7 separate regions of the Homo sapiens genome follow, and regions 1, 2, 3, 4, 5 and 7 are each linked to region 6. Evidence: promoter capture Hi-C in 16 types of primary human blood cells and fetal thymus (Javierre and others, 2016). All regions are on one chromosome and are shown on one strand. Each heading gives the region's core, a stretch centred on a gene start or on the middle of the fragment in contact. The rest is flanking DNA. Distances are from core to core; before and after follow the strand shown. Region 1 overlaps KCNJ6 (potassium inwardly rectifying channel subfamily J member 6). Region 2 overlaps DSCR8 (Down syndrome critical region 8). Region 3 overlaps KCNJ6 (potassium inwardly rectifying channel subfamily J member 6). Region 4 overlaps KCNJ6 (potassium inwardly rectifying channel subfamily J member 6). Region 5 overlaps DSCR4 (Down syndrome critical region 4). Region 6 holds the start of KCNJ6 (potassium inwardly rectifying channel subfamily J member 6). Region 7 overlaps KCNJ6 (potassium inwardly rectifying channel subfamily J member 6).

What was found. Contacts are between HindIII fragments. The CHiCAGO score rates a contact against its expected background, and 5 or more counts as called.
Region 1: a fragment that was not itself captured here is called in contact with the fragment with the promoter of KCNJ6 in region 6 in 1 of 17 cell types (neutrophils); the score reaches 5.2 in neutrophils.
Region 2: a fragment that was not itself captured here is called in contact with the fragment with the promoter of KCNJ6 in region 6 in 1 of 17 cell types (endothelial precursors); the score reaches 6.9 in endothelial precursors.
Region 3: a contact is called between a fragment that was not itself captured here and the fragment with the promoter of KCNJ6 in region 6, in 1 of 17 cell types (endothelial precursors). The highest score is 7.9, in endothelial precursors.
Region 4: a fragment that was not itself captured here is called in contact with the fragment with the promoter of KCNJ6 in region 6 in 1 of 17 cell types (M1 macrophages); the score reaches 5.0 in M1 macrophages.
Region 5: a contact is called between a fragment that was not itself captured here and the fragment with the promoter of KCNJ6 in region 6, in 1 of 17 cell types (endothelial precursors). The highest score is 5.0, in endothelial precursors.
Region 7: a fragment that was not itself captured here is called in contact with the fragment with the promoter of KCNJ6 in region 6 in 4 of 17 cell types (M1 macrophages, M0 macrophages, M2 macrophages and 1 more); the score reaches 7.7 in M1 macrophages.

The regions. Positions count from the first base shown.
Region 1 is chr21:37,778,078-37,782,355 of GRCh38, forward strand. All of the region lies in intron 2 of KCNJ6 (potassium inwardly rectifying channel subfamily J member 6), which reads right to left. Among named protein-coding and RNA genes, the nearest start is that of KCNJ6, 140 kb to the right of the region's middle. The HindIII fragment of the contact is 1,888 bases long and covers 1,233-3,120 here.
Region 2 is chr21:38,129,175-38,133,142 of GRCh38, forward strand. All of the region lies in intron 2 of DSCR8 (Down syndrome critical region 8), which reads left to right. Among named protein-coding and RNA genes, the nearest start is that of DSCR8, 9.7 kb to the left of the region's middle. The HindIII fragment of the contact is 1,888 bases long and covers 1,308-3,195 here.
Region 3 is chr21:37,690,024-37,694,139 of GRCh38, forward strand. The region is part of intron 3 of KCNJ6 (potassium inwardly rectifying channel subfamily J member 6); the gene reads right to left. The region is part of intron 1 of KCNJ6-AS1 (KCNJ6 antisense RNA 1); the gene reads left to right. Among named protein-coding and RNA genes, the nearest start is that of KCNJ6-AS1, 170 kb to the left of the region's middle. The HindIII fragment of the contact is 1,782 bases long and covers 1,088-2,869 here.
Region 4 is chr21:37,669,563-37,673,427 of GRCh38, forward strand. The region is part of intron 3 of KCNJ6 (potassium inwardly rectifying channel subfamily J member 6); the gene reads right to left. All of the region lies in intron 1 of KCNJ6-AS1 (KCNJ6 antisense RNA 1), which reads left to right. Among named protein-coding and RNA genes, the nearest start is that of KCNJ6-AS1, 150 kb to the left of the region's middle. The HindIII fragment of the contact is 972 bases long and covers 1,733-2,704 here.
Region 5 is chr21:38,087,116-38,091,040 of GRCh38, forward strand. The region is part of intron 2 of DSCR4 (Down syndrome critical region 4); the gene reads right to left. Among named protein-coding and RNA genes, the nearest start is that of DSCR4, 32 kb to the right of the region's middle. The HindIII fragment of the contact is 1,506 bases long and covers 1,352-2,857 here.
Region 6 is chr21:37,915,119-37,918,901 of GRCh38, forward strand. It overlaps KCNJ6 (potassium inwardly rectifying channel subfamily J member 6), which reads right to left and starts at 1,339. Exons shown (of 4, transcript NM_002240.5): 1 at 766-1,339. The HindIII fragment of the contact is 6,207 bases long and covers 31-3,783 here.
Region 7 is chr21:37,730,529-37,734,409 of GRCh38, forward strand. All of the region lies in intron 2 of KCNJ6 (potassium inwardly rectifying channel subfamily J member 6), which reads right to left. KCNJ6-AS1 (KCNJ6 antisense RNA 1) reads left to right here. Exons shown (of 8, transcript NR_183540.1): 7 at 1-296. Among named protein-coding and RNA genes, the nearest start is that of KCNJ6, 180 kb to the right of the region's middle. The HindIII fragment of the contact is 2,590 bases long and covers 529-3,118 here.

The DNA of each region.
Region 1 (4,278 bases), core at 927-3,426, 140 kb before region 6:
AGCGTTCAGGCATTCTGCTTTTTTTCCATGCTAGAAAAAGAACTGTGTTTGATCTATAGCAGAGTTTTTTATTTGAGCAGAAGCTATCTAGGGGCATCTACTGACACATGATGCTGACTAGGGTATGATTCTGTCCTCAGTCAGTTCTTACCATGTAAAAGATCCTCAAAGGAAGGATCTCTTCCCCAACCCGTTGCTACTTTGCTTTCTGAAAGTCAGTGTTTCCATAACCTGACTTTTGAGTCTCCTCTGTTTCTAAGATTGTAAAACTAGCTCTCCAAACATAACCACCTCTTAATAGACAACTGTAGCTTCCTAGAGAACATGGAAAGACAAGATATCACAGTTCTGGAGGCGTTTCTCTTATACTTTTTTTTGTATTTTTCCAATTTTATAGAATGAACTTGTATTATTTTTTGCAATGGAAGATAACTTACATATTTCAGCAGCAGCAGGACTGCCTCTGTTCATGAGTTCTTACTTTTGAATTGACATCAGATAATTCTGTACTTGGGAAACTACTCTGGATGTGGCATCCATCTCAGTCTTGGGTGGGACTTTCAGGTCCCTGGACTCTGGCCCCTTCCCACTACATTGTGTGTATCCGTGTGCTGTGTGCGTGTGTGTGTGTGTGTGTGTGTGTGTTTTAACACTCATCTTCTGTTTGAATCAAGACAACATGTTCCCATCTCCTGTACCCTCCCTCCCCAGCATGTGTACCCCCCACTTATTCTTGGAGCACCCCCTCCTTCCTTCTGCCTCTGTAAACCTGACCCATTTGTCAAGCTCATGAGCACCTGGGGCCATCCACACGCAGCCCTTTTTTTCTCTGAATTGTTACTGCCCTTATGATCTGCCATAATCACATGCTCGGAATGCACGTGAACGGGCATTTGTACAGCTCTTTGCAGTTTTCAGACCAAGTGCACATCTATTGCTTCATCTCAGGGCCATGCAAGAGCTGGATGAGATCCTGTCATTATTTAAAATTTAGATATTTTATTCATCATAAAAATTTTGCATTTGGGTTAACTTTTAAAACCATTGCATTAAAATAGTACTTGTCTTGATCCCTGAGTTGTGGTGGCCTTGTAAATTTTGCAGGCCAGTCCCAACCCTGCTTCATTTAATCCTTGTAACTAGAAGAGTCCTGTGAGGTGTGCACAGGACCTCCTGTGGTATTACTGGCCCATTTCACAAATAATGAAACTCATCTCTCCCACTGGATTCCAAGCTTTGTGAGGGCAGCTCTGTAGTTCATACTCTTCTAACCTTCCCAGGTCAACATGGTGCTACCTGTTGGTTCATTTATTTCAAGGTATAGCAATGAGATGGGGAGAGGTGTGTTAATCAGCCCTTGGGGGGACCATGAACTTGTCAAAAGTCCAATTATTACCCCTAACCTGTCTGATTGCATCCATCCATAGACCCCATTGCACTTCTAGGAAGCAAATTTTCTCTGCTTTAGAAATTTAGTGCTCATTTGGTGAGAGAGTTACAGAGGCTGTCAGATAGGGAGTATGACTGAAGAAAAGCCACTTGGGGAACCTGAGGGAGTTCAAAAATTGGCTGGTCCCAGGAGCCTCTGTTTGAAGCAGGAATGAGTTCCTTGAGACGAGGCTAATGTCTCTCTAAAAGCACATGTGCTAGTGATTCTGAGATGACTGTAACCTTGAAGGTTTGCTTGTATGCTCGTGTGGCACTGAGATGAACTTTTTGGAGTCACAAGTGAGGTTGTATGTACTGAAAATCTTCTACCCTTGAAATAAGAATGCAACAGTGTATGTCTCTGGATGTGATTCCATTTAACTGAGTGTAATTTAGGTGGACAGGATTAATATCTTAAACCAAGATGTGGAGACTTTCTGTATCATCTCATTGCACAGAAGTGGGTGGGGTGGTGAGGCAGTAGGTGGTGTCCTTGACTGCCAACTTTTCCTTTGTTGGTCTGAGGTCATTCTGCCTATTTGAGGTTGGGAGAGAAAGCGTGGATAAGAATTATTACCTTGAAAATATAAGATAAGGAAATAATGTGAATATTATTCAGCAATAAAAAGACATAGTTTTTAAGCCACAGAAAGACCTGGAGGAGGCTTAAATGCACATTGCTAAGTGAAAGAAGCTAGCCAGTCTGGAAAAGCTACATACTGTGTGATTCCAACTATATGACATTCTGCAAAAGGCAAAACTATGGAGGTAGTAAAAAGATCAGCGGTTGCAAGAGGTCTAGGGAGATAGAGGAAGTGATGAACAGGTGGAACCCAGAGGAATTTTAGGGCAGTGAAACCCTTTTGTATGATAATGTAATGGTGGCTACTTAAACATCATGTAGTTGTCCAAACCCACAAAATGTACAACATAGAGTGAACCCTAATGTAAACTGTGGACTCTAGCTGATAATAATATATCAATACTGGTTCATCAGTATTGTTACAATCATATCAAATGTTCCACACGAATGCAAGATGTTAGTAATGGGAGACTGTGTGTGTGTATGTGGTGGGGGTGGGGGAGTGCAGGTAATAGGGGAATGCTCTGTACTTTCTACTCAATGTTTCCATAAACCTAAAACTCTTCTTAAAAATAAAGTTTAGCATGAAATACTAGGTTTTATTTAATTGTACATTTTAAAATAACTAAAAGACTACATAATTGGATAGTTTGTAACACAAAGGATAAATGCTTGAGGGGATGGATACCCTATTTTGCATGATGCGATTATTATGCATTGCATGCCTGTATCAAAACATCTCATGTACCCTATACATATATATAGCTACTGTATACCCACAAACATTAAAAATTAAAATAAAAATATAAAGTTTATTAATTAGATAGAAAGGCAGAATGAGAGAAAAGGAGAAAGAGAAAGAAATAACAAACATGGCCTATTTGCCTCATGTTCCAACAAAGGGTCTTGGCTCCAAATATCACGTTAGGGGAATGGAAAAGACAAGTTGGGACTGGCTGAGGCCTGGCTCCTTCCTATGTCGAGTCTATTGCACAGCACACGCCGGCTGCTTCCATCAGTCAGGCTAGAACAGCAGAATTCCCATCTCCACACCACCACCCATCCGGCATCAGTCAAAAGGAGCTTTCGATAATGTGAGTCATGACGGAAGCTTCTTGACATGGTGAATGTTCCCCAAGGGATGTCAAGTGTGATCCTTCTCCTTTGCAGAGCATATGAGCTGCCTCGATTGTGTGACAAATATTTTCGTGTGCCAGCATAATCCGAACTTTGGCAGAGGCTGGGGTAAGGGCGCAGTGACAGAGAAGTGTTCTCAGAGCCTGGCAGTGTTAGATTTAGAAAGAAGGGATGCATTTTGCATTCTTGACACAGGAATCCTAGGAAGTGACTCTTCTTGTCTTAGAAACAGGATTTATCACTAATGACAAAGAGATAACTCATACTTCAGAGAGGCTTGCAGCATACAAGGCACTAATGATGACAACAATTATGAAAATTATGATGATGAGGAACATGATGATAGCAACATGCCTCTAAAGTATACCATGAGGCAGGCGCTGGTCTAGGCACTTTATAAACATAAATGTATTTAATCATTATAATGGAGGTAGTGTCTATCATTATCCCATTCTACAGATGAGAAAACCGATACTAGAAAGAGTAAGTAACTTGGATAAGATTGCATAGTATTTTAGGTCAAGATTCTGTGGCCTTTCCCTCAACTATGTAACCTCTGATCATTCCCTGGTCATAGCTAACAGTTCAAAGCCCGGTATTGTCACAGCCCCAGAGGCAGAGAACAAATAGCTATCACCTGGAAATACCTACCTACCTACCTACATATAGGTAGGTAGGGTGAATAATGTCCTCCCAAAGACGTCCACATCCCAATCCTCAGAGCCTGTGAACATGTTACTTTACATGGCAAAAGGGACGTTGCAGATGTGATTCTGTCAATAACCTTGAGAAGGGGAGATTATCCGGGATTACCCAAGTGGGCCCAGTGTAATCACAAAGCTCCTTACAAGAGCATGGCAGGAGAGTTAGTGTCAGAGAGAGACGGATGGGGTGGGAAAAGAGAGTGAGAGAGAGAGAGAGAACAGAGACAGAAGTCAGAGTGATGGGGCCATGAGCCAAGGAGTGCAAGTAGCCTCTAGAAGCTGGAAAAGGCAAGGGAAAGGGTCCTCCCTGAGAAACCCCAGAAGGAATGCTGGCCCTACTGACACCTTCATCTTAGGACTTCTGACCTCCAGAACTGGCAGAAGCAAAATTTTTGTTGCTTTAATCCACAGAATGCATGGCAGTTT
Region 2 (3,968 bases), core at 1,002-3,501, 210 kb after region 6:
CTCACACCCCCCAGAAGGAACCAACCCTGCAAATGCTTTCATATAGAAGGCCTCTCCAGAACTGTGAAGGACTTTCTCCTGTTTCAAGCCACCCAGTTAGTGGTGATTTGTTAAGGCAGCCCTAGGAAACTGGTACACCCAGTCAGTGCAATAACTTTCAAATAGTTCTGCTTGCCTCCAACACTCACACTCCATGTGTTCCCATCCTTGATTACTGTGGCATTCTGCACATGGCACTCAAAGCTGGGTCAATGTGAGCCAAGAGAACTCAGGAAAGGAGAGACATAAGAGAGAAGAAGACCCTGGAGAGAGAGGTTTTGAGACTGGAAAGTAATCATATAAGCCATTGGATACTTGCAGAAATCTTGGGGTGGTCGCTGAACTTCCCCCAGAGCATGGGATGGGGGAATTCAAAGGACAGAGAGGCTTCTGTTGCCTTCTGCATGATGTATAAGAAATCTCATTGAATCCTCTCTGCCACTGCATGGGCTGGAACTACTACCTGCACATACAGTTAGGAAGCTGAGGCTCTGTGGGGTTATCTCTTGCTTAAGAATGACCGACTGGACTGACAAAGTTCAGCCATAGAATTAGAGCCCAAGATATCCTGCTCTATAATGAGTATTCTTCCTTACCACCCTTATATCTCTAAATCAACAAACTGGGTTATTTGTTTCTCTTGGCCCTGACTTGCTATTTACCTATCTGGATTTCCTTCTCTTTCCCTCTGCACCTGGTCAAAAGCTGCTCATCCTTCAAAGTCCAGTTTAAATTTAATTGTCTCTATATAAATGTTCCTGAGCACCTTAGCCTGAAGAGACATGAATCAGTCCCACTGAACAAGACTAACTGACATGCATATAATTTAATTTGCACAATTGAACACCTGCTGTGTTGTTTCTTCAATTATGGGCTTGGTCTCTTTGCATCTTTTGTTCTGAGTTATTTTTTTCACACTGTTGTAAGCTCCTTGGGCAGAGTCCATAATTTATACATCTTTGTATACCTAGTGGGTCTCAGAACAGTTCCTTGCACACACAAAAAATGAGGCAAAATGAAGTCAGATGTCTTGGTTCTCAATACAGTCATCTGTTCTGGAGTTGTTAAGTGTAGGATATCGAATGCTTTTCTTAAACTTCCTGGTCTCTGTCTCCTCTTCTTTGACAGTAGGGGTTTGAACCAGCGAATGTCAGTTTCCTTCAGCTCTGTTGGACTGGGGCACTGCTCCTTTAGCTTAGGGACACATGCCGGGAAGAGGGAATGTGGGACTCCTCTGGCCCAATTTCCAGGCACCTGGGGCCCCAGCAAGCTTACCTTGTCAGATTCATCAGATGGTTGGACTGTAGGCATGACCTTGGTGTTCCTTGCAGGAAACAAAGGCCAGGTGTGATGCTGGCAGTGTGTCTGTGTGTCTCAGGAGTCTCTCTGATGTTCCGTCTGAACTACATGTCGGGAGATGCCAGATCTCAATCCGACAGATCAAGCCACATGTGCCCAGAAAGGCTTTTGGCGACATCACATTCACTTAGGAGCTGTGGTCCATAGGGGGCTGGGGTATGATATTCTGAATGGTGACGGAAATAAGTGTTCTTATTCTTGTTTACAGTGCCTTTTTGGGAAAATGGGTGAAATAAGGTTCTGTGTGAGTGTGCATGTGCGTGTGTGTGTGTTGAAGTAGGGCTGGAATGGAAACATGGGGGGAAGGATATTTGAAGCTCTGTAGTACCGTTCCTTATTGAAGTAACACCCCTCGCCTAAGTATAAACTTGTGGATGGCTTCCCCAGTGCAAGTTTATAAGTTTGTAAACCCCAGGCTCTGCAGATTAGATGTATGGGCAACTGAATTTTTTTACACAAGCAGAGAAATTTTAAGAAATTTAAAGCATAATCATGTACACCCAAATGCTGGTGGTTTGTGCTGGCTTAAGAAGCAAGAATATTCCTTTGGTTGGTGTAGCATTTCTCTTTACTGAACAGCATTAAAATAGCAACAACCGACTATACACTTCAGAGAGAACCATCTAGACATGGAGAGAAAAGAATCAATCTTGTTTGTAGGTAGCAATGTCTGGTAGTATCCATAAAATATAACAGCCAAGGAAATTTCAAGGGAGTGGAGCAATGGAGATTTTGTGCTTAAAGAGGGATCAATTAATTGGCAATCATGTACAACTCTAGGTATAATTATATAGAAAACAGGCAACATGAGATCATTTATTTATTTTTATGAGGGAATAATTTTATTTTATGCTCATTTTACTGAGGCTAATTTCTTCTTATTCTAAGAAGTAAATGTGAACATGCCTATTGTGCATTTGCAAAGGAAATTCAAACATTGTCTTTGTTTCAGAAGCAAATGCTGTAAATGTTGCTATTTCAGAATGACTTTTATCATAGTTATAGATGTTCTCATTTATTTGCAAATACATTTAAAGTGACAAAAAAGGAATACTTGGGGATTTAAATAGCATGTTTTCAACTTTAACTGCATACTGTATTTAGAATTTAAAGGGGATCTCTGATCTTTGTTTTCTCATACGTTCCACTTGAGGCCACATTATTCTAGGGCAGTGGTCCTAATCCACAGATTTTAGTCTCTTTTCCCCACCCCTCCAGGGCACATCTGGCAGTGTCTGGGGGCATTTTGATTATCACAATAGGGAGGGTCCCCTAGTACAGGATTCTAGTAGGTAAAGGCCAGAGCTGCTGCTAGACAGCCTAAAACACACAGGACGGTTCCCATCTACAAAGAATAATCCAGTCCAAAATGTCAGGAGTACTGAAATGGAGAAACCCTGCTCAAAAAAAAAAAAAGAAAGAAATTTTATTTCCTTCTTACAATAATCCATAGTTAATCTCTGAGCCCCATTTTGTCCACAACAGCATGGTGTCGTGACCTAAAGGTATATCTCAAAAGAATCTCTCATTCTTATCAGTGCAGAATAGAGAAATTGTGTGCAGCCTACGTGTGATTTGTCACTTTAGTACTCTGTGGTAGGTTATTTGACATTTCATGCTTCATAGTCTGAAATGCCCTCTCTTAGTATACCCATCTGACATTTTCGAGAGACTAATGTTTGCCTAAGAATGCTTAAACGATGGCCAGATTTTACTCTGAGTGATACTACCCCCTGGAAGTGGGGGGAAAAAAAGAAGGAGGGAAAAAAGTTAAGTTTTCATTCTAAACATCTTCAAAGCTTGATTGGCTTTAATAAGGTATCATTAATTAATTCAACAGCTAAGAAGGGACTGCAAGTGTTAAAAATCACGGCTGTCAAATGTTATGGCATCTGGGAGCCCTAGTGGTTGGTTACTTAACATGATATTTTAGGACAATTCTACTCTGCTTAAGCATAATAAACCGGAAAGACATGAACAAATGTCCCAACTGCTTCCCTTTCTACTCCCACCCCCTGCTCTGGAAAGAAGCCCTAACACCTCTAATACCACACCACTCTAAAATAAACCCAAATGTTGCACTTATTTTACTGCTATGCATTGAGCATTATTATTTGGAGATGCTCTATGCTGCTTCATTAAAGATCTTTCATATGGGGTGGGGAAACTGAGCCACAGGGGATGATTAAAAGAAGGAAGAAGTCAGATGACTTCGGATTCTGTTGGCTCCTGACTAGAGAACACCTTAGGAAAAGCAATCCTTCATCTGCAGCACACAGAAGAAACCACATTCCGAACTTCTCGGTGATGAGCCCCGTTTCCTAACAGTGTGAGGTTAATGAACCTCCTTATTTTTGGCAGGGTGAGGAAGTGGCAAGCAGAAAAACCTATCAAAGGGAGCCCAGTTCCAAGGCTTTAATTGCTTAGGTGACTATTAAGAAAAGAGCCCCCTTCTTTCACAGCAGAAGGATACAGTTCTCTGTTCCCAAATCTGGCAGCTATTCCTCAATTATAGAAAGAAGAAGGAAATTAAAATGTGATGGATTAAATAAGAGGGTGAACCGGTACTT
Region 3 (4,116 bases), core at 729-3,228, 220 kb before region 6:
TGCAATAAACTACAGATTATCCTTATAAAAATCCTTTCTTTCTCAGTATAAGATTATGCAATTAAAATTGTTTGATTGAAATTGTTTGATTGACATATGATATAATTATTTCAAAATATCTATATATTTGATAAATTACCAGTGACTATGCTTCTTCATGTCATCATTATGAACTACTCAATGTTCAAAGGTTTATCATTTTCCATGTAATTATTTTTACATTCAAGGCTTTCTACTCTATAGCATGAACCTGACAATAACGATTCCTCCTTGAATCTGTATTGAAGTTTATAAAGCTTCAAGGACTTGTCAATGATACATAAAAAGTTAATTAAAATCATTCAAGGACTGCCTACCATAAGACTTGCAATAAACTGTCTGTTTGCATTGAAATGATGGGGTGCTCTGTGGGGTAGATTTTCACCTCCAGCCAATGTCTACTGTGGAGCTGCATGCTTGCATTTGTAATGGGCATTGCTGGGATAAAAGGTCTCAGCTGTGACAGTCTTAGGAAACCTCAGGATTTTTCAATTTTCCAAAGGCCTAAGAGTATTTTCTTGAAATTTCGGCATGGTGCCACAGCTACCAACCATGACACCTGGCTCAGTGAATATCTATGGCCACAGCCAGGGCACAAATGTGAATTTTAAAAATTCCACAAAGCCCCTCCTTTTCCAAACAGAAATTGGACATAAATATTCGTACATCAAAGTAACATATTAATGGGTGATACTTCAGGTTACTTCTTTTTTCTTTTCTTTTTTTTTTTTTTTTGAGATAGAGTCTTGCTCTGTTGCCCAGGCTGGAGTGCAGTGGCGTGATCTTGGCTCACTGCAACCTCTGCTTCCTACCGGGATCAAGCAATTCTCTTCCTCAGTCTCCTGAGTAGCTGGGATTGCAGGCATCTGCCACCATACCCGGCTAAGTTTGGTATTTTTAGAAGAGACCAAGGTTTCACCATCTTGGCCAGGCTGGTCTTGAACTCCCAACCTCGTGATCCACCTGCCTCAGCCTCCTAAAGTGCTGGGATTACAGGCATGAGCCACCGTACCTGGCCCAGGTTACTTTTTCAATTCCAAGCTAAGCAAGCTTAGGTCACACCTTTGAGGAATAAGGACAGAGACAGATAATTGAATTGTGTGGGGCTGAGAGTGCAGGGTTTCCAACCCCTGAAGCCACTGCAAGGGCAGATGGCCAGGTATGGCTAGGACAACAATTTCCTGGCACCCCTAGGCTCAGGTGTAGGGGGGCCTCTGTCAGGACCTCTAAGGATTCCCACAGGGTCTTCATTTACTAGACTGGAAGTGAGAGACATCTCCCTCCCCTCCCTTATTGGGGGCTGTGATGCTCCCAAATCTTAACTTTCTGATGATTTATCTTCAATGAGGGTGAAGTGCTGGGCATTTTGACACCCTCCCAGCCTGCTTGGCACAGCCTGCTCAGAGCTCTGGCAGCTCTTGTTGGAAGGTGGGAACTATTGACACCTATTGAATGGGAGCATCAGCTGAGACCGACTTCTAAGGAGTTCCTCTGAGGTGTCCCGTATCTTCCTGATTCACAGTTTGGCTTCTGGCTAGAATGGTTTCCAGGAACATCTTCAGCCACTGCTCAGTGATTACGGTCTCTGTTCTAGCTTTGCTCAGTTTTTGGCAAATCCAAAATCTGATTTTGGATATGACAGTGGGATATAGTGAGACATGGTTGGAGGCCACTCGGCAGGGGTGGAATCTGTGTGAGTAACCGCGCACCTGTGCTCACAGGAAAGCACAGCCGTTAGAACTCCTTAGACCCTGCAGGCAGGCCCCGCTAAGTTAAATAGTGACAGGGACATGAACATATTCATTCAATGTGCTTTTGCTATGATCCACCACTCTGGATCAAACATATTTTTTGAGACGTTTTGCTGTATAATTAAAAAAAAGGTTTCTCTAACCTCAGCTGATGGCCCATTTATTTCAAGCAGTTTGGGATGTCGTGGCATTCCAGCACTTAGTCATTTGGGGTTTGAGGCAGTGGAATTTGATATGTGTGTCCATTTCCATGGATTGCATTAGGACAAATACTTAATGCATGCGGGGCTTAAAACCTAGATGACAGGTTGATGGGCGCAACAAACCACCATGGCACATGTATACCTATGTAACAAAGCTGCATGTTCTGCACAAGTATCCCAGAACTTAAAGTAAAAACAAAAACCAAAAAATCCCAAAAAACAAAAAACGTAGAGTGGCAGACAAATTCCCATTTAATATTTGTGTTTCAACTGCCTCTCCCTTTACCCTTGAGAAAAAAAGGCAATGCATTTTTTTTTTCCTTCAGAATAATTTCCAAGGAGCAGCATTAGGGGTGTGAATGGTACTTAAAGTGTGTGGATTTAAAGTAGACAGAAGAATCAATATATTCTCCTCAGCAGTGCCAGTCCCAGCTCCCACACTGATCTGCTGTAAGGATGTTGCCTCTATCCCAAGCCCCATTTTAGTGCAACAATTTGGAAACTGACGGGAATGTGGGGGGCCAATAGGAACCGTGTCTTGATTAGACATGTGCTGGCCTGAGAGACAACATTCTCTTCTGCCAGGATGTTGGGGCCCAATGGTTGGGGCCTTCCTGCTCTCTGAAATAGAGTTTAGGTTCTGGCTTTGGAGTGAATCAGGAAAATGGCAGAACCCTTCAAATTCACTTTCAAAGAGACATAGAATATTGACAATGTGACATTCTCTAACAAACAAAATGTTTCCATTGATAACCACAAATTACTCAGCGATCTGCCAAGGAACCATTGATTTAGCCCAAATTTCTAAGGCCACTCCCCTCACCTAAATGGTTATTTCATTAAACTTAGAGCGAAAGGGTAGCATTAGATATGCTAAGCTTTACTCTTAACATAGATACCAAGAAGGGACAGTTTTTGACGCAAATCTTTATTTGGGTTGACAAGAGCCACAAAGAAACTCATTCTGTAAGTGAGCTTCTACAAAGTGTCACTAGTGACTGCCGCACCCTGTGTATGTTCCATCATGTTTTCAAGCTTTTATTAAAAATGGTTAATGGGTAGAGGGAAACATCCCTCTATTTTGACAGCAGGAAATTAAAAACATGAATCCAACTTGGAAATCCATCAGATGACCTGTTTAAATGTCTTAATTTTTCGAGATAGATGGTACCAAGTGCTATGTTTTCTTGCCACTTGAAGGTAGAACTGATGTTTTAGGCAACATCCAAGCAATGTCTCGTTCAATGCCCACATAAGCAAGACTGTAAGTTCTGCCATCTCTTGATTCACATCACCATTTGGAGGATGGGAGTCTTAAATTTCTCTGTCACAAGGAGGGGCCCAGGGATTGGCTGAGTTGCAGAATGAAGGAGTATGCAGGAATGAACCACGGCGGATGAGTCCATAAGACAGAATCCTGGAGGAGAACCAGGAAATCAAACCCTCAAGGTGGGCTGTGTGGATCTGGGACAAGCCGGGAGAGAAGCAGGGGCCACCGTACGCCCCTTGGGCCTCTCTAGCAGGCAGGTGCTCGCCCCTGAGAACCTAGATCCTCTCAGACGAGAGTGGGCAGGAAGAGAGGTGGGAGGGGTGGGGGGATACAACATAGTGAAAATTTAAAAAATTGATACGTGATTTTGGGATAAAAGCAGAAACACTATTGGATGAGCTAGAACAGAGCTCCCCAGGCCCACAGACAAATGGTCTAATAGATTAAATGGTAACACTTTGATAATCATTATAAAGAAGTTTTTCATAGAACTGTTACCTTTTGGTAGTCTGGCTTCCTCATGCCCTCCCTCCAGCGGTACCCACTTTCTTCCCTCAACCTGAACTCATTCCTGCAGAAATACTTTTCACGCTTTTCATTTCTTCCATGTGCCCACTATCTTCATTCAATTATTTACCATTTTTTTTTTAAAAAAAACAAACATTGGAACAAATATAATAAAACTTCTTTACATTGATTATCTAAACATTGACATTTAATCCCCTAGCCTTTTTGTCTAACAGTTTTGTGTTGTGCCAGCCACCGGGCAAATGGTGCCTTCCTGCCAGAGGGGCGTGGGAAGTAAGAAAGTGCTGAGAAGGTTCTGGAGGGAGAAAGGCCCCTCCTGGGACAG
Region 4 (3,865 bases), core at 969-3,468, 240 kb before region 6:
GAAGTCTGTGTGTGTTGTGTGTGTGTGTGTGTGTGTGTGTGAATGTGCATATGCATCTCTGCTATAATGCAGGGATAAAAACAACAATGCTTTGGACATTTTCATGATGCTGAATCTACTGTTTGGAGCTTACAATAAGGAAATATGCAGAGACTCTGAAATGTCTTCACAGAATTGTAGCTGGAATAACATGGTTAAGATGGATATTCAAAATATTTGAAAATAATTTGAAAATATTTTCTCCCATTCTGTATGTTGTCTTTCACTTTCATGATAATGTATTTCAATGCATACAAGTTTTTTATTTTGATGAAGTTATATTTATATTTTTCTTTTGTTGCCTGTACTTGTGGTGTCACAGCTAAGAATCCATTGATGAATCCGAAGTCATGAAGATTTACCCCTGTGTTTTCTTCTAAAGAGTCTTACAGCTTTTGCTCCTCTATTTAGGTCTTGATGCATTTTGAGTTTATTTTTGCAAATGTATGAGGTAGAGTTTCAACTAATTCTTTTGCATGTATATATCTAGTTGTCCCAGCACCATTTGTTGAAAAGAGGATTCTTTCCCATTAAATGATCTTAGTGTCCTCATGAAAGTCAATTATTCTAAGGTGTGCAGGTTTATTTCTGGACTCTAAATTCTATTCCACTGGTTTAGATGTCCATCCTTATGCCTTATATTCAGTCACTGCTTTAATTACTATAGTTTTATAGTAAGTTTTGAAATGAGGAAGTGTGAATCTTCTAATTTTGTTCTTTTTCAGCATTGTTTTGGCCATTTGGGGACCCTTGCATTTCCATATGAACTTGAGGATTGGGCTTTTTAGTTCTGCAAAATGGCCATTGGAATTTTGGCAGGGATAACATTAAATCTGCAGATCACTTTGGGTAGTACTGCCATCTTAATAATATTAAGCCTGGGCTGAGTGCAGTGGCTCACACCTGTAATCTCAGCACTTTGGGAGGCTGAGGTGTGCAGATAACTTGAGCTCAGGAGTTTGAAACCAGCCGGGGCAACGTGGTGAAACCATGTCTCTCCTAAAAATACAAAAGTTAGCTGGGCATGGTGGTGCATGCTTGTAGTCCCAGCTACTTGGAGGGCTGAGGTGGGAGAATTACTTGAGCCTGGGAGGCAGAGGCTGCAGTCACCCAAGATCGTGCCACTGCACTCCAGCCTGGGTGACAGAATAAGACCCTGTCTCAAAAAGACAAAACAAAACAAAGCAAAAATAATATTAAGCCCTCCAACCTATAAGCACAGGATGTTATTCCATTTATTTAGATATTCTTTCATTTCTTTCAGCAGGACCTTATGATTTTCAGTATATGAGTTTTCACTTCCTTGGTTTGAACTTAGGTATTTTATTTCATTTTTTGGATGCTATTGTCAATGGGCCTGTTTTCTTAATTTCCTTTTTGAATTGTCCATTGCTAGTGTATTGTGATATTGTGAAATATATATTTGGCCTTTATCCCATTTCCTGATACATAGCTCCTAAAACCACTAGAATCTCTGGAGTGTTAAGAATGTCTTTTGTTTGCTACTGAGATGACTGGCAGCTGCAGACCTCTAGATAGCTTCCGGGTGGGGGCTGGCCACCTGAAAGACCATGGCATGATTAGAAGGTTGAGACTTTCGGTCCCACCCCCAACCTCCAGGGAAGGGAAGGGGGTTGAAGGTTCAGTTGATCACCAATGGCCAATGATATCATTACTCATGCCTACATAATGAAGCTTCCATAGAAAAGCAAAAGGACTGAGTTCTGGGGGCTTCTGGAAAGCTGAACACATGGATGTTCCTGGAAGGGGTTAACCCAGGGAGGGCGTGCCCCTCTTCTTGCCTCTTCTCCCACACTTTGCCCTGTACCCTTCTTCCTTCTGGCTGCTCATCTGTACCCTTAATTATATCCTTTATAATAAATGGGTAGGTGTAAGTAGAGTGGTTCCCTGAGTTCTGTGAACTGCTTTCGCAAATTAATTGAATCCCAGGATGGGGTTGCGGGAACTCCCAATTTACAGCCAGTTGGTCAGAAGCACAGGCCACAACCTGTGCTTGCGACTGGCATCTGCCGGGGTGGGGCAGGCTTGTGGGGCTGAGCCCTCACCCTGTGGGATCTGACACTGCCTGCAGGTAGACAGTGTCAGAGCTGAACTGAATTAGGGAACACACAGGGGTGTCCACTGGAGAATGACCTGCAGCACTGGTTGTTGTTGGAGAAACCCCAACAGCCCTCTGGAGTCATGGAAGTGTTATCTGTTGTAAGAGTATAGTACGAGATGCGGAGTTTGTTTCTTCCTAGGTCCTTATGTATAGAAATTCAACATTTTTTTTTGTGTTGATCTTGTACTCTACAACTTTTCTGAATTTGTTTATTGGCTCTCGTAGTATTTTTGTGGATTCTTTGGGGTTTTCTCTGTATAAGATCATGTTATCTTTGAATAGAACTAGTTTTACTTCTTTCCAATTGGAATACTTTCTGTTTCTTTTTTTTACTTAATTGCTCTGGAGGGAATTGTGTCTTGACCCATTCTCTACCTGTAGTCTAGGAGGGATTGACCCCATCTCTTAAGGGTGATCCCTGCTTGGCTTAAGCAAGTCCATAGAGCTCATCTGCTTGTCCCCAGTGATTGGGTCGGAAATGGCATATGACCTCCTTAAGGACAATGAGATGCAAAGAAATATAGCTTTAGCTTCTAGGAAGGAAGCTTCTCTTTTCTGTGGAAGCTTCTGGAAGAGATCCTGACTCTTCTGCTTGTGAGAAGTTGGGGCCTGAAATGTGGTGGACACTTCTGCTACCATGAAAGAAGTAGTCTAAGGATGACGGTGATGCAGAAGGAAGGGAAAGCAGGAGACCTGGAGAAAAGGAGCTGGGTCTGGGGGTCATCTCAGCGCCTAGGAACCGGCAGCATCGGAAGTCCTCTCCCCCTGGGTTTTTGGTTGTATGAGCTAAGACATCCTCAATTTTTTTTTCTTTTTTCATAAGTCAGTTTGGGTTCTCTGACATCTCTTTTTACTTGAAAATGTTAAAGTTCAAGATACATGGTATATCCTTAGCTTAGTATAAACTTATCAGCTATGGTTGTTTCACTTGGACTTTTTACCTAATCAAAAAGGAAATAAAGATGTAATACACATGTAAGGAGATGGTAGGTTTTTCTCTCTTTCTCTTTTTCTCCCTTCCCCTTCCCTTCCCTTCCTTTCTCTTTCTTTCTTCTCTCTCTCTCTGTTTTCTTGAGATAGGATCTGGCTATGTGGCTAAGGTGGGAGTGCAGTGGTACCATCACAGCTTACTGCAGCCTCGAACTCCTGGGCTAAAGTGGTCCTCCTGTCTCAGCCTCCCAAGTAGCTGGGACTACAGGTGCATGCTGCTGTGCCCTGTTAATTATTTTATTTTTTGTAGAGACAGAGTCTTGCTACATTGTCCAGGCCAGATTTTTCTTTTAAGTGTGGTAAATGCTATAAAAGTCTCCTTTTTACATTATTCTCAAAACGTTTTTAATGAGCAATAATATTCATTATTGAATGCAAAATGAGAGAGAGAAAACAAAGGAGGAGAAGAAGAATTGAGAGGAGACGGGGACAGGTAAGACAGCATGAGGGAAAGAGGAGTGGTGGAAATGGAGCAGAGGCTGGAGGAAGAGGGTTGGGACCTGAACCATCTCTAGGGCTATGGCCGATAGGCCCAGGGGCAGCCTGCTGGAGCTAGGGAAGTGGGTGGTTGTCCATCAGCTTTCCTGGGTGGTCCCATTACTGGGAGGCTTCCATCTCCAGCTGGACTGTCCTGCAGCTTCCTTTGGCTGGGCTGCCCCTGTCCCCTCCCCCTCTTCCAGTCCTGTTTCTTTCCAGGAGCCGGCTCCTTGGAGC
Region 5 (3,925 bases), core at 855-3,354, 170 kb after region 6:
CTTTATTGTATTCTGGACACATGTCCTTTGTTAGAAATGTGATTTGCAAATATCTTCTCCCAGTTTGTGGATTGTCTTTCTAATTTTTTAAGCGTGTCCTTTTCAGAGAAAACATTTTTAACTTTTATAAAGTCCAACTCTTTCTTTCTTCCTTTTCTTTCCTTTTTTTTCTTTTTCTTTTCCTTGAGATAGAGTCTCACTCTGTCACCCAGGCTGGAGTGCAATGGTATGATCTTGGCTCACTACAATCTCTACCTCCTGGGTTCAAGCAATTCTCCTACCTTAGTCTCCTGAGTAGCTGGGATTACAGGCACCCACCACCATGCCCAGCTAATTTTTGTACTTTTAGTAGACACGGGGTTTCACCATGTTGGCCAGTCCGGTCTTGAACTCCTGACCTTAAGTGGTCTGCCTGCCTCAGCCTCCCAAAGTGCTGGGATTACAGGCATGAGCCACTGTGCCTGGCCATTATTTTTTCTTTTATAAATTGTGCTTTGGTATTATATTTAAATACTTTTTGTCTAACCAAAGGTCATTACAATTTGCTTCCATGTTCTCTTCTATAAGTTTTATAGTTCTACAATTTAAATAAGTCTATTATCAACTTTGAGTTACTTTTTTTGTATAAAATATGAAGCATAGTTTAATATTCTTTTTAAAAATATAAATGAAATATTCACATGAATATGAAATTTTTTCATAATTCCAGCACCATTTGTTGAAAATACTATTCTCTCTACATTGAATTAATTTTGTACCTTTGTCCAAAATTAATTGGCTATTCTTACGTGGATCTATTTCTGGGTTCTCATTTCTGTTTCATTGATATGTATGTCTGGCCTTTTAAAAATATTATATTATCTTAATTATTGTAGAGTCATCATAAGTCTTGAAATTTGGTGCTATGAGTCTTCCAACATTTTTCTTCTTTTTCAAAATTGTTTTGGTTATTCTAGATACTGTGCTTTTCCATATATATTTAGAATGAGTTTTTCAGTAGCTACCAAAAAAGCTTTCTTGGATTTTGATTGGGATTGCATTGAACCTATAGATCAAATTAAGGAGAACTGACATCTTAACAATATTAAGTATTCTAATTTTGACCATGGCATATCTTTCCATTTAGTTAGATCTTGTTTGATTTATCAGAATTTTTATAGTTGTCAGCATGCAGATTCTACACACTAAACAAAAAAAAAGATTTATACCTAAGTATTTCACTTTAGGAGCCACTGTAAATTTATTTTAAAAAAATTGGTTTCCAGTGGTTCGTTTCTAGTGTATATAAATTAATATTTGTATGTTGACCTTGTGTCCTGTGACTTGGATCAACTTGCTTACCAAATCTAGAAGCTTTCTTTTATTCCCTAGTTTCTTTTTTAGATTTTTGTATGTAGAGAATAATATCTGTAGAGAATAATATCTATAACTAGAGACAGTTTTATTTCTTCTTTTCTAGTCTGTATGCTTTTTTTTTTTTTTCTGCCATATTGCACAGACTAGGAACCCAGAACAATGCTGGATACCAGGAGTGAGAGAACCTCCTTGACTTGTTGAAGATCTTAGGGGAAAAGATGGAAAGTCTTTCACTAATAGGTATAATTATAATTAATTATTTCAATATCCTTTATTGGTTAAAGGCAGGTTCCTAGGTGATCACAAGTTTTTTTTTTCACGAATAGATCTTGACTTTTGTCAAATGCTTTTTCTGTTATCTATTGAATATATACATTTTTTTTTCCTTTTTAGTCTGTTAATATGTTAATTACACTGGCTGCTTTTTGAATGTTAAATCAGTCTGGTAGTTTTTGGAATAAACTCCACTTGGACATGATGTATTATATTTTTAATATATCGTTTGCTGAAAAAAAATATTGGTAGAATGCATTTATTGTTGGCAGTAAAGACCTCCATGTTCTTTAAAAGCCAAAGACCAGGGCCAGAGTACTGCTGGAAGCTAATCTCCTCCCTGGGAGCCACACAGATAAGGTTAACTGGAAGCAAAGGGCTCTGGAAGAGAGGAAGCCAGGGTGCCGCTGCTGCGCCCCGTTCCTGCCTGGCTTGGACGTATCTGGAACTGACCTCATTCTTTCACTATGGTGGACAGAATTCTAAAGCTGTCTTTCTAAGATGTCGTCCCCTGGTTATATAATCAAGCGCTAATCCAGGTAATGCTGTGAAGGGACTTTGCAACCCAAATTAAGGAGGCTAATCACCTGACCTGAAAATATGGCAATTATCTTGGGTTACTGAGTAGGTCCAATGTAATCACATTAGCTCTTAAAAGCAGAAGAGGAAGCCAGAGAGATGCAGCAGAAGGGCTGGTGGGACTGGAAACATGAGAACTTTGTCTGCCATTGCTAGTTTTGAAGATGAAGATGGAGGAAGGGACCACCGAGGAATGTGGGTGGGCTTTAGAAGCCGAGAACGATGCCCGCAAGGAAGCAAGCAAGGGAATGCACCCGGAACGACTTTGGAAGCAGATTTATTCCCCAAACCTCCAGGAAGGAACACAGCCCCACTAATACCTTGATTTTGGCCTATGAGACCCAGAGCAGAGAACAAGCTGAACCCCACTATGTGTGGACTTCTAACCTACAAAACTGTGAGATAATAGATAGACACTGTTTTAAGATGCTAAATTTGTGGCAATTTGTTAAGGCAGCAATAAAAAACGAATGCTTTGGCTTAGCAAACATATACGGAAGACCTTCTATGTGTCAGGGACTGCCAGGTGCTGAAGATAAGGAGACTGGGAAGAAAAACGACCTCTTTATCTAAGGGGCGCACCAACCAGAGGGAGACTATAACACCAAACAAAACATGGAGGTATTCCGTATATGTGCCGTAAAAGCAAAGCTTATCTTGGTTGCAAAGAATAAAAAGCAATTCTGGCTAACTTTAAATAACAAAAGAAAAAAAAAGAGAGACTATGTGCTTTTAATTTTGAGAGCAAAGATACTGGAAGATTCTAGTTTGAATCTTCTAGTTTGAAGGAAACTTCAAACATGTCAGATTTGGGGAAAGGACGACCAGTACATTCCCAGGAACCTTAGTCATAGAAGTTTGTAGACTTTCTGCTGGTTCTTTAACTCTGAACCCACAGTTCTTGGCCTTAATTTATCCTTTCCAAATTTAAAATTATAAGAGGGAAAAAGACAAGGCTTAGATTGGTCCTCTTCAAGGACGGCATCAATCTATTCATGAAGGATCCAACCCTCCCCAGCCCAAACACCTCCCATTAGGCCCCACCTTAAAGACTAGTAATCAAATTTCGACATGAGGTTTAGAGGGGATAAATATCCAAACTATAGCAAGGGTAACCTGTTTTACTTAGAGTCCATTAAAAAAACATCTTCACAGCAACATGCAGCCTGGTGTTTGATCAAATTTCTGGGTAATGTGGACTAGGCAAGTTGACCCATAAAATTGAACATCACATCTTGTGGTACACATAACCCATGGGGTCTAGCTCTATGGGTCAGAGCCTCATCCCCAGAAAGAAGCCTCTTTATGGGCCTTAAAGTTAGTCAAACAGGTGCTCCCAAGACTGTCCAGTTGTCAGCCACACTTCAATTACCCCTACAATGAGGATGGTAATACTCATAGGATTTTTTTTGTGTAGCTTGGAAAAAGATTATGAGGATAAAATGATTTTGTTAACTGTTAAGTGATGTGCGTATGTGAAGTTGGCATTATGTATTTTAAATTAAGATTCAAGGAAAGTTGGCAAACTTTGAAATCTAGAATTTGTACTTGCTACTAAAAACGAGTAATTTTTAAGTGAGACGTCAGGAAACCCCAAAGCCTTTTCGTGATTCCAAATGCTGTCAGAAACTCCTCAAAGCAAAACTCCACCATCTGCACTTTAAATTGAAAAGTGTGGCGAGTCCTCAGGGATCTAGAACTAGAAATACCATTTGAC
Region 6 (3,783 bases), core at 89-2,588:
CTGATGTTATTTCACTTAAAAACTAATCCAAGCTTAATGTTTTGATGAAAATGAAAATATATCCACAGGGAAGCAAATATCCACAGCCACCCAGTCCTCTAAATGCCACACACATCTCATTTTATCTAAAGTGTTTTTTCTTCCCTTCCAATTACAAAATAATTCAGTTTACTCCTAGGAAGATCTTCCTATTCACTGTTTTTAGTCATGCTAGCACATCTTCGGTTTTAAGGATAGAGAACAGTTAGGAGTTACAGTATTCTGTTTCCCATTCTCCGCATGTTTCTCCCCAACCCTCACTTTTCCTCCCTTTCGTGTTGTCTCCTCTCCTCTCCATGCAAAGCAGAACAAGAAGACTGCCTTCCACAAAGACAATAGGCTTTTCCCAACTGTAAATGACTACATCACAAGCCGCACCTGTCAGTTAATCAGTGCATTTAAGTCTTTGCCAGCGGATGTTGAAATGATGTCTGCAATAACTGACTGGGTTTCTGCGAGCCCAGGGATGCAGACCCCTCCTTCCCCCGCCCCCCGTGCGAGTTTCAGTCGCTAATGAAAACCGTATGAAACAGATTCCCCTTCTGTTATGTAACCGGCTTCTCCCTCGCCTTTCGGCTGACTTGGGCACAATGTTTCTCATGAGAGTGGAGATGCCTGCGGCGACGGCGGAGCTGGGGAAGGGGACGCGGGGACCCGAGAGCACGGAACGCCTCGCCCAGGTGGACGCCAGCTCCTCGCCTGCGAGCAGCTCAGCGCACCGCTTACCTGGCTGCGGACGGGGTGGCTTCACTCAATCATGATCTCCTCTCTTGAAACGGAGCAAGACTGAACAATTCACTACACGACGGATGGCGAGGGAAGGAAATGCAAAAAAGAAAAGGAAAAGAAAAAAACTGGAATCAGATGGTCAAATTTCACATCAGCACCGAGAGGCTGTTAGGAGACTCCATTCTGCTCGCGGCTGCTCCGGCTCCAGGTCCGGCTTCCCGGCGTCCGCGGGTCTCCACCCCTCCGCCCGCCCAGCCTCTCCAGCCAGGTGCGGCCGTCTCCGGACTGGCTCCCTCTGGCCGAGCGCGGAGAGCAGGGCTGGGCGCTGGGGCCAAGGGAGGGGCGGAGGGGCGCGCGTTTGGGCAGGGACGGGGGAGGGAGACTGGGTGGAATGAAGTGGGGAAAGATAAGAGTGGCAGAAGAAAAAAAAAATCCCCGGTTAGGAGAAAAGTGGTGGACCACGCAGAGAGACGTCATGAAATCCGCAGATTCAATGAATGCTACTCAATTCCAGCCGACTGGCTGAGCCCCGCTGGCAGCGCACGAAGCGACGCGGCTCCGAGATAAAAGCGAGTGCAGCGCCGCGTGCTGGGGAAAAAGCCGCACAGCGCCGGCGCGGTCCGGGAGGAAGGGGCGGGGGCGAGCAGGACAGAGCCACAGACCCAGAGACGCCCACCCCGCCGCCCATGCCAGCTAGCGTGTCAGCGCGTCGAGGACCGGGCTTGGTGGGGGCGGGCTGGGCACAAACCAACGTGCATCCCCCGCCACTGGAAACGTGGGTGCTCCATGCTGGGGGAATCTTTTGGGTTTCGGTCCCCGACCCCCCAGTCCCAACCTTTCTCCCAGTGCCACTAAGTAAGTTATTCCCGGAGAAACGCCTGGAAAGCAGGAAAGAGCCGAAGCTCGGGGAGCAGTTTTGTCTGCTGGTTGTAGGGGTTCGGCTTTTAGGGTTTTGTGAGATAAGGAAAAAGAGGCTCTGGGCACTGCCTCCCACCGGGCTGAAATCCGTGAGAGGCAGCCCCGGCGCGGGAGCCGGAGCCTGCACCGCCCAGAGGGGGCGCAGCGAGCGGCCGGGACGGAGGGGAGGGGCCCTATCCCTGAGCTTTGCTTGCACCTGGTGGCGCCCCAGCCTGCTGCCCCATTCAGTCCCTTCTGTCCTGTCCACTGCAACTGGGACCTGGTCCCGGCTGCTGCATCATCACCCCATCCTTATATGATGTCTCTGGGGTCACTGGAGACAAAGAATGGCCTTTTCCAAGAATGACCCAGGCTGCCTTCAAAGTTGAATTTGTCAGGATAAGCCCCTTAGACAAAGGTCTACTCCACTCTTTGAATCTAACTTGCTTTGTGCTGTTATTCCAGGGGCCCCTCATAGTGCTCCCCTCTTGCACCCCCTCTTTTTCTTATGGTCATCAAAAACAATGGTTCTACATTTCCAAAGTCTTCCCATAAATTGCTTCTACCTATGAACAGAACTCTCTTTTATGCTGTCTTTTTCCTAGGGATGAATGGATTGACAAATTGTAAGAGTAGCGAATACCATTGGCTAGTAATTTTATAATGGCCCTTTCAATAACTGGCTATTCTTGTGCTGCTTTATGAAGTGGCTTTCCTTCCACAAGGCACAGAATCTCTACCTCAAAGAAGGTGACCTTATTTTAGAGAGAAGGCTTACGGAAACCTCTTATTTCCAAGATTATTTTATTCTACATACATACATTTTAATTACCTAGCAATTCAGGTCCCCTCAAGAATGCTGTCTGCCCTCTAAAAATGACTGTAATATGGAGAGGTGTTTGTGTCAATTTGCATCCAAAGTCATGTAAAAGTCAACCGTACACACGGCCTGTGAGCTTGTATTTGCTGTTGATTTTCCCTAAGAGGTTGTAATCTGACTTGCTATTACTTCTGAGTCATATATCCCATATACAGAAGATATGAGTATGTGTAATATCTGTAGTATGTGTAATACGTGCTCCACAATGCCTGCTGGATCTAGTGATAGTGTTACAAATAAACAAAGAACAACTGAACCAAATAATCCCTGAGAGACCAGGAATACAAATGCAAGATGCAGGATTTCGGTGGACACAGCCTTAGAACATTAAAAGAACAACCCATGTTGACTATAGTTGTGTAAAGGGCATTCTGTTTAATCTGTGAAGCTGCTATGGGTATGCCTGCTAATTTTGATGATATATACTTTTACCAGTAGAATGATTTCACAAAGTATCTTTCTTACAAGATATTAGACTAAATAAGAAAGTCAAGAGTTGGAAGTAACCTATTTGTCTCCTTCAAATACTTTGAAAACTCCCCTACTTGAAACAGCTGCCGGGGTGATGTGGGCAATAGCACTTTGTGAATGGCATAAGAGCACGTGTTGAATGAGATGGATCCCATTAACACAGCCTGGGATTTGATAAACACCAGAGACAAGAGCAATTGGCTTAACTGAATTCATTCATTTATTCCGTAGAGTTCTGATAAAGTGATCTGCATGGGTGTAACTAAGAGACTGCAGCCACATCTGAAAATCAGGCGAGCTGTGCTTCAGAGCTGCAAATTGTGGCTCCTCTGAGCTCCTGAGAGCCTGGTCTCTCAAACTACATTGTGTTTAGCTTGTCTGAAATCTCACTTATATATCTATTTTATGATTTCAGGTGAAGGCAAGGCCTGGGGGAGAAGATCTTTCAGGGTAAATCAGTGCTCCAAATCTCACAGTGACTTTTATAATTGATTGATTATGTCATACAGATGAGACTGGTTTGTCTCCCACATATAAAGCTGTAATGGAGACTTATTAGCTAGTAAAATTAACAAACTGAATTATCTTGACGGGCTGTCATTTGTTTTGGGTAATCTTGTTTTTCTCTGTCATTGATTGCGGCAATTTATAAACCATTCTATCTTCTTGGCCCATGTGTAGATCTGGCCTTGCCTTAGACAGGCTGACACCAGAACTAAGATGGTTGGGAGTTTTTGGTCTCCACCCTTGGGCCAGTACTTGTTTTA
Region 7 (3,881 bases), core at 574-3,073, 180 kb before region 6:
AATTATGATAGTGTCTGGGTCGAAGAAGGTACACAATTTGTAACTACAATAATCACTATTTTTATAAGCTCAACATTGTCCTGGAAACTGTGGGAAATCCAGAAATAATCTAAGAAACAGATGGGCAGACCCATCTGGAAGCTAAGAGCCTGCTTGGTAACACAAAACCTGCATAGTGCCCCATATCAATGTGCAGTTGCATTCTACACTGTGGACAAGAGGCCAAGAATGTTCTAGTGCATCAGAGACAGAGGCCAACGGTGGCTGGACTAATTGGCAAAGGCATCACAAAGGAGGTGGGAAATTATTGTGGCTCTGATGTGTGAAAGGGAAAAAGCCAACCCTTACTGAATATCTATTATGTGCCAAGTACTGGGCAGGGCACAACAGCCCACAGGGGGAGTATTGACCCGTCTTACAGATGAGGCAGTGGAGGTGCATAAGGTTCAGTCACTTGCTGAAGCTTACATGTCTAATATTCGGTGGGGATAGGAGATTGAACCCTCCATCAAGTTGGTCCCATTCTGAAGCTTGTCTTCTTTCCTTTCTGCCATTGCAGATAGATGAGAGAAGTGTGTGTGTGTGTGTGTGTGTGTGTGTTTGTGTGCCTGCATGTGTGTACAAGGTGAGAAAAAGTGGCAACAAGAAGAATCTTGCCTCACTCCTGTGTTAATAGAGTAAATTACCCCAGTGGAGCAGAAGAAGTGGAAATAATGGAGTGAAAGATTTAAGGGGCTTGTGTTTGGGATATGGGTCAACACTAGAGAGAGGATGCTGGGGATGGAGGAGAAGGGATAAGGCTAATAGAGAAAAAAAGACTTTCTAAGATTTGATGGCAGATTAAGATCTGGTAAGTGGGAAGATCCTGGTGTCTTACAAAATCATAAGTTGGGAAGGGGAACTCGCAGCTAGGGAATAGGATGAACATTTATTGAACACCTACTATGTGCCGGCATTGAGCTTTGTAGCTTCACATCTGTTTTCAGCTTTATTCCCTCCCCTTAATAAATCTGTGTGGTAGGCAGCATCATTGATCTGAGAGAGGCTGGCTACCTTGCCCAAGGTTACACAGCTGCAATTGGGTTTGGTCTTGGGTGATTGCTCTAAGTCTAGGGTACTTTTTATTAACCAAACAGCACAGAAGCATGAAACACCCAAGGGTGCTGAGCAGACAGATGGGCTGTCTCAGAGGATGAGAGTATAGAGCAACAATCAAGAATCGAGACCACCAGATACTTCAGGAAGCATCCACAGATAGTGCTCAGGAGGAGCAGAGGGTGCAGGCAGTGAGAAGGCGGAGGAGTTAGTGGAAATGAGGGGGCTCTGCTGATAAGAAGAGTCCAGGATGAGGAGGCCAAGGTGGTGCATTCAGCAAGGGAGAGGCCCTTCCTAGCAAGGAAGGAAACTCCCAGAGACTCTGAATAGGGTGGTCAGGATGGAAGTTCGACTGCAGGGACAGAGGGTGATGATGGCTGAAGCTGCAAGACACACTCATCTTAGATGAGGAAGGGAGATGGCAGCGTGGCTGGGGAAAACAAGCATGACACCTAGTTTTCCAAACGAGGGAGGGGAAGCAACCAGTAGAAATGAAGCAGTGGGACATTCTAGAGGGAAAGCAAGAACAAGATCTCCCAGGGATTGGGAAGAAACAGAATGAAGGTCAAAGCGTTGCCCTCAGAGAGAAGATGGGCCCCTCCCTGTCTGAGAGACACAATGCCAGGCACAGCAGGGTGTGTGGGGCTGGCCAGACTGGTCACCCCTGCTCAGAATGTGACAGTTGTTCCAGTCTTTCCAATGGATTGTGGTCACCTATCCTGGAGTGTCCATAAATTAGATCAGACTTTTCAGTCTTGAAGAGGGGCAGAGAGAAGCGAGAAAGTGATTGCTTGGTTTTCCCACTCCAGTTAAGACACAAGTCGCCCTCTCTTAGATTCCAGAATTGTGGAAAGCCAAATCTTCTAAAAAGGTCTGGTGAGCTTTAGAGTGAGGAACGGGGAAGCTATTTCGGAAGAACTAGTCTCTGCATGACTGATGGGCAGGACGTTTCCTCGTCAATTTTCTGGGGCAAGACCGATTTGGATTTGCTTTGATTCCACCACGTCATGGGTTCTCACGACAGAGGAAAGAATAGTCAATCCAAACCCTCACATTAGCCGGAGTTCCAATTTTAGACAGATGTTCCAACCCACTTCCCACAAACCCGCTTCTCTTAAGAATTCTAGCAAGTGGAAAATTGAATTTCATTTTCTCTGCTGTCCCTCTCCTGGGGATGACAGAAACTGGGTTTTGAAGGAGAAAAAAGGGTCCCAGGTAATTCACCCAGAGCAGTGACCACATAGTTGAGGGTTAAGAACAAACTGATCCCCACAACTCAACACCTGTTGGGTAGCTCCACCTGGTACCAGCAAGAAAAGGGGGGGCTGGCAAGCAAGCATTCAAGGGTATTTTCCCTGCTCTAACAAGGTATGTTTAATTCTACAAGAAAACTGTTATTTCTCTGCATCATTTTCCCTCTTGACTTCACCTTTAATGCACACTCTATAGACGTCCTGTTGTTTAACTTTGTGCTTGCAGTTAAGTGTTAGCATTTTGAACAAATTAATGCTGACTTCCTCTTTTCCTATAAAGGCTGCACCCTCTGGATGTATTTCAGTGATTATACTAATTCCTGCATCAATAAAATAGAATTACTTTTACTTAAACGTGGCTTAAATTCCTGGCGATACTTGAGTGGAATGCAAAAGGCCTATGTTTTGCACTTCATTGCATCTGTGTTGTTCTGGAGAAATCTGCCGTTGGTATTTCGGGGGTCTTTTGAAGAGGAGTCTGCTCTCTGTAATCATTGCCATGTTTTATTTGAGCTCTCGGAGATGGGCATTTCCTTTGCCTGGGTTTTGTGGAGGAGACATGCACTAACTAGATTTGGGGTTTCAAAGACTCAGGTCCTCAGATAATCACTTGGTACCTGTTCTTTGGCCAGTGGCCAAACATCTCCGCATCTCAGCATCTTTCTTCTAGGGACTGTTGGTCAACAGCTTATGCTACCAACTTCTACCCTGAAAAATATTCACTTTTTTAGGGTTTTTTAGGATAAAATAAGAAATTTCTTTTAAAAGAAAGCTTGATGTGTCTTTGAATGGTCTGATGCATTGAATAAATTGCATGTCCTTTTTCTAGAAAGCAAATGAAATAATTTTAGTTAAAAGGTTTCATAAGGCAGGTTTCGGTTGATGGGAGCGCAATGTCTCCCTGTATGGTCACATACACGACTGTGTTTTGTGAGTGTTGCATTTCCCCAGGTTTCAGAGAAGAAAATGATTCTTTTCCTCCATGGGTCAGACATGTAGGTGTAGTTCTTCTCTCAGCCTCTGCCTTCATTTCTCAGACAACTTGGTTTCCTGTGAACCAGGCACATGCATGTTCTTCAAAATGGCCCTGGATTGAAGCAGGCCACCAGTTTCCATTTAGCCTTAGCTGAATGAGAAGATGTTCAGTCCTGCCAGCTTCATTATCAGCAGGTCTCTTGCATTTTAAGTGTTTTTCTCAATTTGTTTGAGTCATCCTGTTGTGTACCCTGAGGCTTTGAGGTACCAGAAGACGGAGGTTGAAATCTTTACAGTAGATGTGGGCTCCTACCTTTCTATTGTGTCAGGTTCTAGGAATATCATTTTTCTTCTCAAAATGACTTCACTAGCGGGGAGAAACCAGCTGGTTTTTTTCCTGGTAGGGGTGGCTTGAAGATGCTCCCACGGGGGAGGAATTGAGGGGCTTGTGACTTTGTGCATGGATCTCTGCTCTACTAGTTTGTGCAAAGTGGAGATTGTGCAGACCCTAAAATGTTGTACAGAGGAGAGCCCAGTCTAAGGGTTCTATAGCGGAGA